Linked DNA regions of Homo sapiens: region 2 is linked to region 1. Evidence: promoter capture Hi-C in human tissues and cell types (Jung and others, 2019). All regions are on one chromosome and are shown on one strand. Each heading gives the region's core, a stretch centred on a gene start or on the middle of the fragment in contact. The rest is flanking DNA. Distances are from core to core; before and after follow the strand shown.

The links. Contacts are between HindIII fragments. The study calls those that stand out against the background at their distance.
Region 2: a contact is called between the fragment with the promoter of ZNF181 here and a fragment that was not itself captured in region 1, in 2 of the 25 tissues and cell types used here (mesendoderm cells and thymus).

The regions. Positions count from the first base shown.
Region 1 is chr19:34,842,221-34,845,402 of GRCh38, forward strand. All of the region lies in intron 3 of LINC02965 (long intergenic non-protein coding RNA 2965), which reads left to right. Among named protein-coding and RNA genes, the nearest start is that of LINC02965, 5.1 kb to the left of the region's middle. The HindIII fragment of the contact is 8,258 bases long and covers 1-3,182 here.
Region 2 is chr19:34,732,909-34,735,883 of GRCh38, forward strand. It overlaps ZNF181 (zinc finger protein 181), which reads left to right and starts at 1,335. Exons shown (of 4, transcript NM_001029997.4): 1 at 1,335-2,138. The coding sequence starts at 2,130. RefSeq lists enhancers at 183-242, 460-977, 698-1,087 and silencers at 1,368-1,417, 1,518-1,577. The HindIII fragment of the contact is 5,149 bases long and covers 1-2,975 here.

The sequences.
Region 1 (3,182 bases), core at 1-2,500:
AAAAGGTTGGGGACTGCTGCCCTAGACCAGCTTTCTGGATTCTGGCTGAAACGGACAACTTACCAATATTAATTCTTCACTCCACCAGCTGATACACACACACACACACACACACACACACACACACACACACACATTTGTACGTGTATTAGTATACGGCAGTTTACAGAAAAATAATTGTTTTATATATATTGATCTTGTATACTAGCACCTTGCAAAATTCATACCTTACTTTTTATAATTTTTTATAGATGGATTATAGGATTTTCTGCATACACAATCAGGATTTCTGTGCATTGAGTAGTTTACCCTTTCCTTTTAAATCTGTATGATTTTAATTTTTCTTATCCTCCACATTTGCTGCAACCTCCAATACAACATTGAATCCAAGAGAAGTCAATGGACTTCATTTTCTACTTCCTGATCTTGGGGGGAAAATATTCAGTATGCTGTTAACTGAAGTTTTTTTTCGTTCAATGCATGCATTATCACATAAAAGAAATAAGGAAATTCCGTCCACTTCCTACTTTACTGAAAGATTTTTTTTGAAAGGAATATTAGCTTTTTTCGATTAGTTTGTTCACAACTATTGAGATGAATTGTATCGGCTGATTCTTTTCTAATAGCTTTTTTGAGAGACAATTCATGTAAAATACAATCCATGTATTTGAAGTATAGAATTCAATGGCTATTAGTCTATTCACAGAAATGTGCAACCATCAACACAATTTTGTAAAGTATTCATCACCCCAAAAAGAATCTTTGTACACCTTAGCCATCACCTTCTAATACCCCCACACCTCCCAGTTCTAGGCAAGCATTAATCGACTTTCTCTCTTTGAGTTTACCTACTCTGGACATTTCCTGTATGAAACCATAGACTATGTGGTTCTTTCTGGCTGGATTCATTCATGTATTATAATAGTTTTATATGGCATATACATAACACAAAATTTACCATTTTAACAATTTCTAAATGTACAATTCACTGGCATTTAGTACATTTATATTGTTGTATAACCATCGCCACTATTCATCTCCAGAACTTTTTCATCATCCTAAATTGAAACTCTGTACCTATTAAACAATAACTCCCCAGCACACATTCCCCACAGCTCTGGTAACCACTATTCTGTCTCTATGAATTTGCCTATTCCAGGTATATCATATAAGTAGAATGACACCTTTGTCCTTCTATGTCCAGGTTGTTTTACCTGGCATAGTTTTTTTTCAGGTTTTATCCATATTGTAGCATGTATTAGAATTTCCTTCCTTTTGAGGCTGAATAATATGCCATTGTATGTTTTGTTTCCCCATTCCTACATTGCTGGATACCTGGGTTGCTTCCAGCTTTTGGCTATTGTGGATGATTCCACTATGAACATGGGGTACTACTGGGAAATAGAGTAGAATGAACCTGACATTTATTCAACAACACAGACACATCTCAAAACCATTATGCTTATCAAATACCCACACCCAAAACTGCATACTCTGATTCTGTGTATAACAAATTTTAGAAATAGCAAGATTAATATGAAATGTCAGAAAGCGGATAAATGGTTGTTTGTGGTTAGATATGCGGAGGAACTAACAACAAAGGAGCATAAGGGGATTTTTTAGGATGATGGAAATGATCTGTACCTGAATTGTGGTGGGGCCTTGAGTGTACACATTTGTTAAAACTTAGCGAACATAAAACAGGTGCATTTTTCATGTAAATTTTACCTCCAAAAGGTTTATCCGAAAAAAAACATTTGATGCAAAGGCAGTCACAACGTCATGCTAACGTCGTTGATTGTTTTATAGGCAACTGCTATTGCAGTTGACGATATGAAATTGACGATAATTAGGGCAGAGATAGACTATGTGGTTCTTTGTGGCTGGGCTCACTTACGTAGCGTAATGGTTTTATATTGTGTATAAACAACATAAAATTTACCATTTTAACAATTTTTAAATGCACAATTCACTGGCAATAAGTACATTTATATTGATGTACAATTATTGCCACTCTCCATCTCCAAAACTTTTGTTCATAACTGCTATGGTAGTTTGTAATATATTTTAGACAATTCATTTAGAAAAGATTAATGCTAAGGAAGGGGTATGGTGGATAATAGGAAGGCAAGCAGTGGGGGTGCTGGGCAGGGGGTAAGGCAGGAAGAAAGACAAAGCAGCAAGTAAGCTTAGATGCAGAGAAGGCTTGCTGACATGCGGACCTTGTCCGAGCATCTGTTGCAACATACCCTGATGAGAAGTTCATGTGCAATGAAACTCCAACTCCTGGGACCTATGTGTGGAACACTGGGACCCTGACCCCGTCAGATCAGTCAGATCCCCTTTCTCCAGAGCAGATTGGTCAGCACAGGGAGACAACAGCTCAGATCTTCGCCCTGTGAGATCACTTATGGGAGGGGCTGCCCCGACCCCCCACATCTGACTCCCCCATGCTATAGTTTGGTTTGTTTGACCCCTCCAAATCTCATGTTGCAATGTGATCCCCAGCGTTAGAGGTGGAGCCTGATGGTAAGTGTTTGGGTCATGGGGTTGGAGCCCCCATGATGTCTTGGAGCTTTCCTCACAGTGATGAGTGAGTTCTCACTCTATTAAGCCCTGCAAGAGCTGATTGTTAAAAACAGCCTGGCACCTTCCTCCCCTCCTCTCTCGCTTCTTCTCTTGCCTAGTGATCTTTGCACATGCCAGCTCCTCTTTGCCAGCCTAAGGCCCTCACCAGAAGCAGATCCTGGCATCATCCTTCTTATACAGCCTGCAGGACTGTGAGCCAAAGAAACCTCTTTTCTTTATAAATTACCCAGCCTCAGGTATTCTTTTTATAGCAACACAAAAATGAATGAAGGCATCCCTCTCTTCAATGCTGCAGGAATTGTTTTCATTACAGGTTTGGGCTGCTCTATAATTTCATATAAATGGGAGCATACATTATGCACTGTTCTTAAGCCTTAAGGAGTCTTTCATTCAGCATCATGTTTCTGTGATCCATCCATGTTGCCTGTTATCAGGAATTCATTCACTTTGATATCTGAGTATGAATGCACCATGGTTTGTTTTTGCTTTCTATATAAATAGACATCTGAGGTACTTCCAGGTTTTACATATTATGAATAAGGCTGCTGTGAACTTTTCTGGTGCAAGTGATTCTGTGTCCATGTGTTTTTATT
Region 2 (2,975 bases), core at 85-2,584, 110 kb before region 1:
AGGTCCTCAGGAAGGCTCCTGGCCCTCTTCGCCCTAGGAGGACCCCCCCCCCGCCCCAAGCCGGCTCCACCTGTAGCTGTGGGCGTGGGAGGGAGACAGAGCGCTCTGGCGGCCAGAGAAGGAAGGAAGATGGAGGGAGGGCGGACTTCTGCTCCCTGACGCTGCTGCTAGGCCCCCTGCGGCCCTCCTGGAGCCCACACCTTTCAGCTGCAGTCTCCCAGCCTTCGTCCCCAGGACGAAGCCCACTAAGCCAGTGCTTTTCCACTGCAGCTGGCTGTTCCGCTTGGGGAGGGTTCCCAGATTGTGCAAAGTGAGGAAGGGTCCCCTGTCCCTGCCCCGCAGGGCCCCCACTCCAGGCCTCCCCCATCTCTCCCTGTCTCTCTCAGAGGTAGAGGCAGCATTAAATTAAAATTTAATTAAAATATTAAAAATAAAGTAAAAAATTCAAATATACAACAGTAGACTGTCTGGCTTGCATACAAAGAAGGCCATTGCCCCTTTGGGTGAGCCGGGCAAGGTCAGGGTCTAAGAAGCGCCTCTGGTGAGAAGCGGTTGTCAGGCTCTGATGGCTGCGGGAGGAGTGACTCCTCCCAGGATGAGGGTCTGTGTCCTCTCAGTGCTCACTCAAGTTCCGTATTTCCAAGTCCTTCCAGGGGGCGTAACGCACGTGAGAACTGCCATTTCTGTCACAGATACGTGGCCGCATGCATTTCCAGGAAATGTCCTTGGTTCGCGAACTACAGCTGGCACAATCCAGCCCAGGGCGTTCTGTGAGCTGTAGTCTCCAGCAAGTGAATTCCAAAAAAACCTCAAAGACCTCAAAGACCATACAGGGTGGACAGCGTAGTAGCAGGGTTTGGGAAGAGAGGAGCTCTTTTGCTAGCAAAGGCGAGAGCTCGCCTGGTACAAGGTCTGCCCACGTCCCGGGAGATAAACATTAGTGTGAGCGCACGCTAGACCCAGAAGAGTTTGCCACGGCCGCACGGTTTTCTGGGAAGTGTAGTTTCTTGGTCCCGGCGCCATTGTCCTTAAAAGTAGAGGGTGGCCCTTGGTTCCGAGGTGTATCTTTCACCTCATCAGTATGACTATATGCCCCAGGACACTTCCCGCATGGTCCTAACTGCCGGGCTCTGGGACGACAGCCCCAGGCGGTTTAGTTTTTTAGGAAACCGAGATCTGTTTGCCCGCGGCGCCCCAGGTCCGCGCGGCCGCAGAGACTCCTGGGAAGTGTGGTCTTCCGGTACCTGCGGTTCGTTGCGCCTGGAATTTTGTCCCCTGCGCGGATGATTCTGGGAAATGTCGATCGGCTGTGGGCGGCGCACTGGGTCCGCCCCGCTGTAGCCTCAGGCCTGACGGCGACTCCCAGGCTCCGGGACGATTCTGGGCAGTGTCGTCCCCAGAGGTCGGCGGCCGTTGCCCGCTCACCAGCGACGCGGGGCGCCTGCGGGGACGGTGAGGCCCTGCTGAGGACTCCGGCCAGTATGAGTCCCGGGGGCGGCGGCGGGGCTCAGGCCCTGGGTCTGCCCCGCGGTGTGACCCCGGCCGGTGCCTTGGTTTTCCTGGCCTTCATGTCCTCCTATGTAAACGCGGGGTGATGACGGCGCCGACCTCTTGGCGCTGTTGTGAGAGTGAAGTGGGCGCGTGGTTAGACGCCAGCCACAGTTGTCTTTGGGTTATGTCGTCATGAAGCCGGCGCTCTACAGTTGTGTAACCTTGAACAAATGGGTTCAGTATCTTGGAATTTCAGTTTTGTCATCGTTTAAAAAATAGATCTGGAAAAATGTGAACGCACACCGTGCATAGTGGTGAAGACTGAACGAGCTGATAAAGTTTTTACCATTGTTTTATGAGGATTTTATTTACAGAGTAATTGATTTTCCTCGCAGGTGGCACCTGGTAAATGGTTAGCCCTTGCGGAGAAACACCCTGTTAGTTCCCAGGGAGAGATTGGCGCCCTGGAGAGTGATTACCAGTGTGCCTTTCCATTATGGTGTGTCACAGGTGCCGCAAGATAAGCCTGATTTTTCATGACTGCTTTTTCCTGCCCTTCTGTGCCCTCAGGACACTGCCCATCTCTAAGATAAGAGCCTGGAAAGAGGACTCTGTTGGCTGTTGGAAATTGCAGAGTAATGCCTCAGGTAGGTCGGTGTGTCCGCAAATCTTCCTGAAACACTTTATCAGGACTGTGTGTTTGCTTTGCTTCTCCTGCCTGTTCCCACCTAACCAAGTCCATTTAAGGGACTGGATCCATGGTTCCTTTCAGTATAGGAAGGACGGAGCCCACAGGAGAGCTCCAAGGTATTATCCTCCTCACCCAGTGTTCCTCTTTTCTACAGTTTTCTGCTAGAAGACTTTCTAGTCTTGCCAACATTTTAAAACTGTAATTCACAATGCAACTTTGGAATGTAAGGTTATTCGGTTTATGGTTGTCAAAACTGTACCATGTGGTCTCAAGTGAAGAGATGCTTGCAGTCATCCTTGATTCTTCCCTTTGACTTATACCTATATTCAGATCCTCTAGTTGGAGCTAAGCTATACACTGTATACAGAATCTGACCATTAGTTACCCCAGCACTACCACCACCACTACCACCCCGGTAGTGATAGCAATAAAGCCACCTGGATTATTGCGGTAGCCTCCTAGCTGGATTCCCTGCATCTGCCCTTAACCCTCATCAGTCTGTTCTCAGTACAGCTGTGACCGTGGTCCTATTGTTACATAAATTCCTGTCATTCCTCAACCTATAATTTTTCAGTGGCTCTAACTGAGTCACTTCTGCAATGACCTATTTGTACAATTAGGCCATTACCTTTCTGATCCCACCTTCCTTCTCTGCCTCCTCATTCCTGTGAGCTCTAGCCACTGTCACTAGTTGCTGTGCCATCGACGTGGAATATTCTTCCCCCACATACGCACAAACTTGCATCCTTATCTTCTTCGTGTGTTTGTTCCGTGGTTACTTTCTCAGAAAAGC